Linked DNA regions of Homo sapiens: region 2 is linked to region 1. Evidence: promoter capture Hi-C in 16 types of primary human blood cells and fetal thymus (Javierre and others, 2016). All regions are on one chromosome and are shown on one strand. The core of a region is centred on a gene start or on the middle of the fragment in contact, and the rest is flanking DNA. Distances in the headings are between cores, read along the strand shown. Region 1 holds the start of NSMCE3 (NSE3 component of SMC5/6 complex). Region 2 holds the start of DPH6 (diphthamine biosynthesis 6).

What was found. The method cuts DNA at HindIII sites, captures the fragments that hold promoters and counts their contacts. A CHiCAGO score of 5 or more calls a contact.
Region 2: the fragment with the promoter of DPH6 here is called in contact with the fragment with the promoter of NSMCE3 in region 1 in 1 of 17 cell types (total CD4 T cells); the score reaches 5.4 in total CD4 T cells.

The regions. Positions count from the first base shown.
Region 1 is chr15:29,268,224-29,271,620 of GRCh38, forward strand. NSMCE3 (NSE3 component of SMC5/6 complex) reads right to left here and starts at 1,599. Exons shown (of 1, transcript NM_138704.4): 1 at 1-1,599. The coding sequence starts at 1,482. The coding sequence ends at 568. The region is part of intron 2 of ENTREP2 (endosomal transmembrane epsin interactor 2); the gene reads right to left. RefSeq lists enhancers at 894-1,395, 1,396-1,895. The HindIII fragment of the contact is 8,019 bases long and covers 1-3,095 here.
Region 2 is chr15:35,544,426-35,547,822 of GRCh38, forward strand. It overlaps DPH6 (diphthamine biosynthesis 6), which reads right to left and starts at 1,740. Exons shown (of 9, transcript NM_080650.4): 1 at 1,694-1,740. The coding sequence starts at 1,716. It overlaps DPH6-DT (DPH6 divergent transcript), which reads left to right and starts at 1,770. Exons shown (of 3, transcript NR_038251.1): 1 at 1,770-2,048. RefSeq lists an enhancer at 741-1,675 and silencers at 1,723-1,862, 2,163-2,212. The HindIII fragment of the contact is 1,793 bases long and covers 511-2,303 here.

The sequences.
Region 1 (3,397 bases), core at 349-2,848:
GTTTAGCAGCAGAGCTGAATAATTATGAATATAAACAATTACTATTGGGAGAAAATACATTACACTCATTGCTTGGAACCATGAATAATACTTATATATGTACGAAATATAGAAAAATAAAATAGGTTAACATAATAAGGATATAGGCAATTATTTTTTTTAATTTTATAAAAACTTTTATTTTTCCTTACAAACTGGGGTAGTTAGGAGACCTGATAATAGCTTTTTTATTTTCTTGGCACCAAAGCAACTTACTTATGTGTTCCTTCTTGCATTATCTGTTCCAGATCATAGTCAAGTTTTCCAATTCGTTTTACTAAGCTAGCAAAATTTTTTATACCAAAAAGAGTAAAATCAAAACAAATGCTCCTTTGTTTATAGATGAAAATCTGGAGCAAAATAACACAACATTAAAAAAACAAAACTTTGCAAACACATCCTAAAGCTACACACATTGAAGCGTTTACAGCAATATGCTCCCTGGGTTCGTTCTCCCTTCCCCCAATCCTCTAAACTGTGCCTTTGGGTCTCAGACCCTTGTCCCGGGGGTCCCTCTGAATCCACCTTTCAAGAGGATGGAGCTGGGCCACTAGGCTGAGGTCTGGCCCTGTTCTCCTCATCTGCCAAAGCCTCACAGTACTGCGCTGGCCAGTCCTTGGGGTCTTGATTATGGACCTTGGCCACAAACTTAAGAACTTTCATCTTGCTGGTTTCCAGGTTGGTTCGCGGGCCCCACTGGAATTCGTAGTCGACGGGGTCGGTGTGGGGTATCCGCCGGTATTCCAGGTAACGCTGTCGCACAAAGTCCTCAGTAATGAGTTTCTTTGGATCTCCGAAAATTAAATGCTTCTTGGTGGGGTAGACCCCTAAGCGCCGCAGAAAGTCCCAGGCTTCAGTTTCCTTGATGGTGTTGCCCTTCATAAAGATGAGCCCTAAGACGATCATCAGGAGGCCCGTAGTGGGCGTGCCTTGGTCACCCCTCATCTCGGCATCCTCCTCCACAGGCTCCAGGGTGTTGATGAGGATGTAAGTGTTGCTCTTGGGTTCAAGTTCCACCAGCTTATACCCGAAGACGTACTGGAGGCGCTCGGCGGCCCGTTTGAAGAGGTCGGGGAAGATGTCCTTGTAGTCCCCGATGACGTGCTTCAGTATGTCGGCCCGCTTGATCGGAATCTTCTTCTGGTCTTTAATCAGCAAGAACTGCACCAGCTCGGACACTTTCAGCTCCAGCTGCTTCTGGCTCCTGGGCCCCACGGCGGGGGCGGCCTGGGCCCGGCGGGCGCCCTGAGGCGAGGGGCCCTGCGACCCCTGCGAGCCGCCCGGCCCGCGGGACGTGCTCGGGGCCTCCTCGGCAAAGCCGTCTCTGAGAACCCGGGCGTCTTCCCCGGCCCGCGAAGCCCCGGGGTTTCCGCTATGGCTCCAGTCTCTGTCCCTCTCGGCCTGGCCGCCAGAGCGGCCCCGGTTCCTCGGTTTTTGCAACATGTCTCCGGCGGCAGGTGCCGGCGCACACTCCGGTAGGCAAGCAGCCGCGGCGGGGATTGCGGGTCGGCGACCCGCTAACGCCGGTGCCTGGAGGCGCGCGCAGTGTCGGCTGAGACTGCGTGCTGCGTCATGAAGCCTGCGCCTTGCGTCAGGGCGGCTGGGCGGTGCGCCTGCGCGGCTGCGGCGGGTACCAAAAGGAACAGCGTTTTCCGTGCAGCCCTGCAGGTCCGGGCGATGATTTTTAGTATAGTGAAGTGTTGTTACCAAACCATGCAAACAGAGAGCGAGAACCGAAACTCCTAAACAAGTGTGTCGCTAAATTCAGACCACACAGGCTCAGGCAAGTTTTACAGACAGTATTATGAGTTTCTAAATCGGGAGCATTTGTAAACGGAAAGAATTCAGAGGATGAACGTGTGAGAAAAAAAAAAGGTGAAGAGGAAGGGCCGACCGTGGAAGTAAAGTAAAAACATTTATTTCTACACAAAATGTAGAAGGACATAAAAGACCCAGAGGGCTCTTAGTTTTCGTCCCTCCACCCAATTTCATACCCTCCATCCCACTGCCCCCAGTTACTTTCTCTAATGCCCCGTGGAGTCTGTTAAAAACCAAAGTCGGCTGCAGGCTTTCTGCGCAAGCAGGACTTCAGTTTCACTATTTCCGTATTTATATTCTCTGCATTAAACTCCTTTAGCTAGACAACTATGAGAAGACCACAAAAAACGTGTCAGTATTAGGTAAATGTTTTAGCTTGGTCACATGGGTTTATCTTTTGGAAAACAACTGCTTTCGTCACAACCACAATTTTAGCAGAAATGGGTAAGAGGAATGCTGCAAACAAACGTGCACTCTCAAGAGATTACTACTTAATTTGGGGCATCACTGATCAAGAATTGCAATAATGTGGAGCTCTTAAATTTCTTAATTCATAATATATTAGCTTTGAGGAAAAAAAAGAGAACACTGGGGGATTTATCTCTCATCTATGATGTGATATACAGTCTCTACTGTATATTTTAATTGTGCAACTCAAGTAGCCAAAATGAGTCATTTCATTAACTCAAACCATCAGCAGTCTGCTGCCATGACTTCTACAGATCTTAGCAAATTTGTTTCTTCTCTATTTACTTGCAAAGAAGAAACTGAATTTCCCTGTGTCTTTTTAAAGCTACCCAGAAAGTGGATAAACTCTTCAAAGAACCAAATTGAGTTCCTCTTTAATGCAAATATATTCAAAGGAAAGCAATTTAGAACACATTATCTGAGTAATAGCATCAAACACAACCTTATTAAAATTTTGTTAATTGTTAGTAGCATAACACTTTTGTTTGTAATTCAGTAGGAAAATGCAATCTGATAATGGCACTGGAACTGCAATAGTAAATGTAAAATCATATTCCATGAACTAATGCAAGTATGCTAAAATCTGGTATGCAATGAGTAATAACTTACTGTTCCACACAAGATGCAACTATATCCTCAGGCATCAATTTTAATGACAAAGGCCTACTATGAAAAACAAATATATTATCAAGGCATTCATTTTTTTACAATGAGAAAATTCATCTGCTTCAGTTTCCTTGCAAATTAAAATCTGGACTTAGGTTCATAGAAGCTTCCTGCCATCTAGAATTCTGCAAAAGGTCCCTACTGCAGGATGTGGATGTTGTATTGAGGGAATAGAGAGACCGTCTCATATTGTTTTATATTGTTTTATACTCAGTACCTGTTTTAAGAAAAAACAACAAGGAAGTAAAACCAAATACAGGCAGCCCAGCGCCAGGCCCAAAACCAGGCCTGGGCCTGCCTGGCCTAAACCCAGTAGTTAAAAATCAACTCATAACTTAGAAACCGATGTTATTCATAGATTCCAGACATTGTATAGAAGAACATTGTATAAAGAACAGAACTGCCC
Region 2 (3,397 bases), core at 490-2,989, 6.3 Mb after region 1:
AACCACCGTGGCACATGTATACCTATGTAAAAAAACTGCACGTTCTGCACATGTAACCCAGAACTTAAAGTATAATAAAAAAAAAATTTAAAAAAGGAAAATAATCTTCTTAGAAAGATATGTAAGAATCCCAGTTTCACTTATTCACTTATAATACATAATTATATATAATGCATATATATAGAATACATAGGCATCTGTATCATAAGCATACAGGTAAATGCTTACGTATTCATACTTACAGCATATGTCCTTACAGCTCTTACGCTTCAGCAAGAATTTTCCAACATTGCTTTTTTAGCAAACTTTTTTTATTATAAAGCAACATATGCACATTACAGGTTATTTAGTGTAACTGACTCTACCAATCTTCTCTCCTCCCCTCCAATACTTCTAAGTCTTTGTTTGTTGTGCTTTACTTTAATCGTTAAACTTTTGGCAAGCGATGTAAATTTGAATTATTCACTTCCTGGGGTACTTTTAATTCTTAAAATAAGACACAATGGTTAAAGCTTAATCATTTATGTTACAGAGGACATTTACTGAACAACAATAATTATTGTGACATTATGGTCTAGTCTCCTAAAAATGACATTGAAGGAAAGGGAACCGGAATATTCCAGACACTACAGTAGGTCTGAAATCTCATATCAAGTCCTTAATAGGTCAAAACTTACAGCCAGTATCAATTACCTAAGGGACTTAACGAAAACGTTTATGAAATCTTCAATTGGATTACAAAAGCAAGCACATCGTTGCACTGTATCTAAGACACTCTACAGGGCAAAATCTCATGAAACAAGTATTTAAGTAGTCTAACTTTTTAATGTTGCTAGTGTGTTCCCTTCTGCCTCAGTTTATAGATTGAGTATGGAAATATTTAAGCAGGTTTGTTTTTGGTTTGTCAGTCACAGGACTTATTTAGACACTTAAATTTATGATTTGGTTACTACAGACATCAAACTCCTTTTGGAATACGGAGTATAGGGTAAGGTCACTCTAAAGCAATGATGAGAGTCCGAAGCAACAGCAACTGGATCTAGCATAAGACTAGTACAATTCGGTCTCTACCACGAAGAGAGATCTCTGTACTTGAGTGCCCAAAGGCAGAAACACACACATGCCATAAGCAATCCACATCTGTGAAGATGAGGGAGGGGTGGACTTCTTGGGATGGGCGGAAACACTTACAACTAGGGAGGAAGCCAGGCTGCGGCGGACCCAGCTGACCAAAGGAACTACAGAAGAGGACGAAGAAAGCGAGGGGGAAAGGGCGAGGGTTATTAACTGAGTTGATGGAATAAGGTAGTGGCTCCAAACTTCACGGCTCATTAGAGCTTGAAAAAAAAAAATCAGACGCCGGGTCGCACAGAAGTAATTAAACCAATCCCTCTGGCGGTGGGGCCCAGGCGTCGGTACTTTTTTTAATTTCCCACTTGAATCCAATGGGAATCCAAGTTTAAGGGCTAGAAGACCAGAGAGCGACAGACAGGGAGGAGGCGCGCCAGCCAGGGGCCGAGGCACATGCGGGCCGGCAACAGCGAAGGCTCCGCCTCTTCCTGTGGCTCGGAGGAGCCGCGGAACCCCCAACGCGCGACTCAGACGGAGACACCCACTCTTTCGGCGCTAGCGGCGGCTGGAAGGGACGAGAGCCTGGCCTAGGAGGAAGGAGGCGGCTCCAGGACCGCATTACCTGATCAGAGCCGCGACCCTCATGCTGGGCGCAGTGCGCGTGCGTGCGGCGAGCGCGGGCGGGAGCCAGGAGGTCGCGCCGCAGCTCGCGTGACGCACCGCGGGGCCTCGCCCGGGTGTTCGCTCCGCCGCCTGTCCGCGGATCGGCGCTGCGAGCCCCGCGGCTGCCTGCGGGACACCTGAGCGCGGAGGGTGCGGCACCTTGGCACCTTGACCCTGTGGCAGGGACATCTCGGCCCAGGAAAGAATGAGGTTTAGGCACGGCCTAACCACCTAAGTGAGGGCACTGAAGCTGCCGGGGGAAGGGCAAGGTCCGCGTTGCAGAGCCCAAGCCCAGTGGCGCAGGATTTGTTTTGGTAAGAGGGGATTTAGCGTCCCAATTGCTGCAAATTGACACAGTTGCGGACGTGCAAGCGCAGAAGAAATTTGTCCTTCCTCACCCCACAGAACAGAAACAACTGTACACTTCTGCTTTTTAACTTACATCTCCTCTGTCCTCCAAACCTGTGTGTCCAGATGTGAAACTCAGATCCCCAGGGGCTGTGGTAATTTTTAAATCTGGGGCTAGCCCCCCCCACCTCTAGGCCCTCTGTGGCTTTGGCTCTTGGTCAAGCTTGTGTATTTGACAAGGCCAGGCCAGGCTCTTCACCAAAGAGCAATGGCCTTGCAGAAAGAAAATCTAGCTTCTAAGTTTATTTGCCAAGTATGTATTGAGTGCCTTTCGTGTACCAGGCACTGTTTTAGACTCTGTGGATACAACCGTAAATAAAACAAAAACCCGGCATTCCGGGCATAGAGCTTAAATGGGGATGGAGAGAACAGACAATACATATCTTAAAGGTAAATAGTCTGTTGAAGAGTGAAAAGTGCTATTGGAAAGGGGCGGGGTGCGGTGGGGGAGAGTCAGGAGAGAGGTGGAGAGGCAAATTGCAGAATTAAATCGTGTCTATGTAGGCCTTATTGGTAAGATGAGAGTTGAGCCAATTTAAATAAGGAGAGTTCGCTATGTGTATGATTGGGGTGTGCTCCAGACAAGAAAAAAAAATCGAAGGCTCTAGGTGCGTTGTGTGTTTGTGGAAGATTAAGGCAGATCCGTGTTGCTGGAGCAGATTGAGCAAAGCAGAGAGTAGTGGAGAGCAGGTTAAGGTGATGGAGGGGAAGGATTATATAGGGTCTTGTAGGTAATTGCAGACTTTTGAAGGGTGTGACTTAAAATTTTAAAAGGATTGCAGTGTTGAGAATCCACCTATTAGGAAGCTGTTACAGTGTTCCAGTAGAGAGATGGCGGAGCCTAGAATCAACATGGTGAATTTGGTGAGAAGTAAGAGGATTCCAGCTCTATTTTGAAGATAGAGCCAATAGAATCAAATTCGATATGGGATACAAGAGAAAGAAAGTCATGAGGGATGATGCCAAAGGCATGAATTAAGTAAGTTAATATATGTAGGGAACTTAAAATTATGCCAGGTACATAGTAAGCATTCAATTTTATTTTGACATTCTCAACTCTAATAGTAGGGGTGACTAGAGCAGTGACAGTCTACATATCAGTTTTAGCGTCTAGAATCATACAGCTTTAAGATTTTGCAGTTATGAATATTTACCAAATGAGTCAAGTATTTAAGAAGTTTGCAGTCTAATTGGAGGAGATAAATACGTGAAACACACTTAAAATGATACAGCTCCAATGAGTGGAAGAAGCACC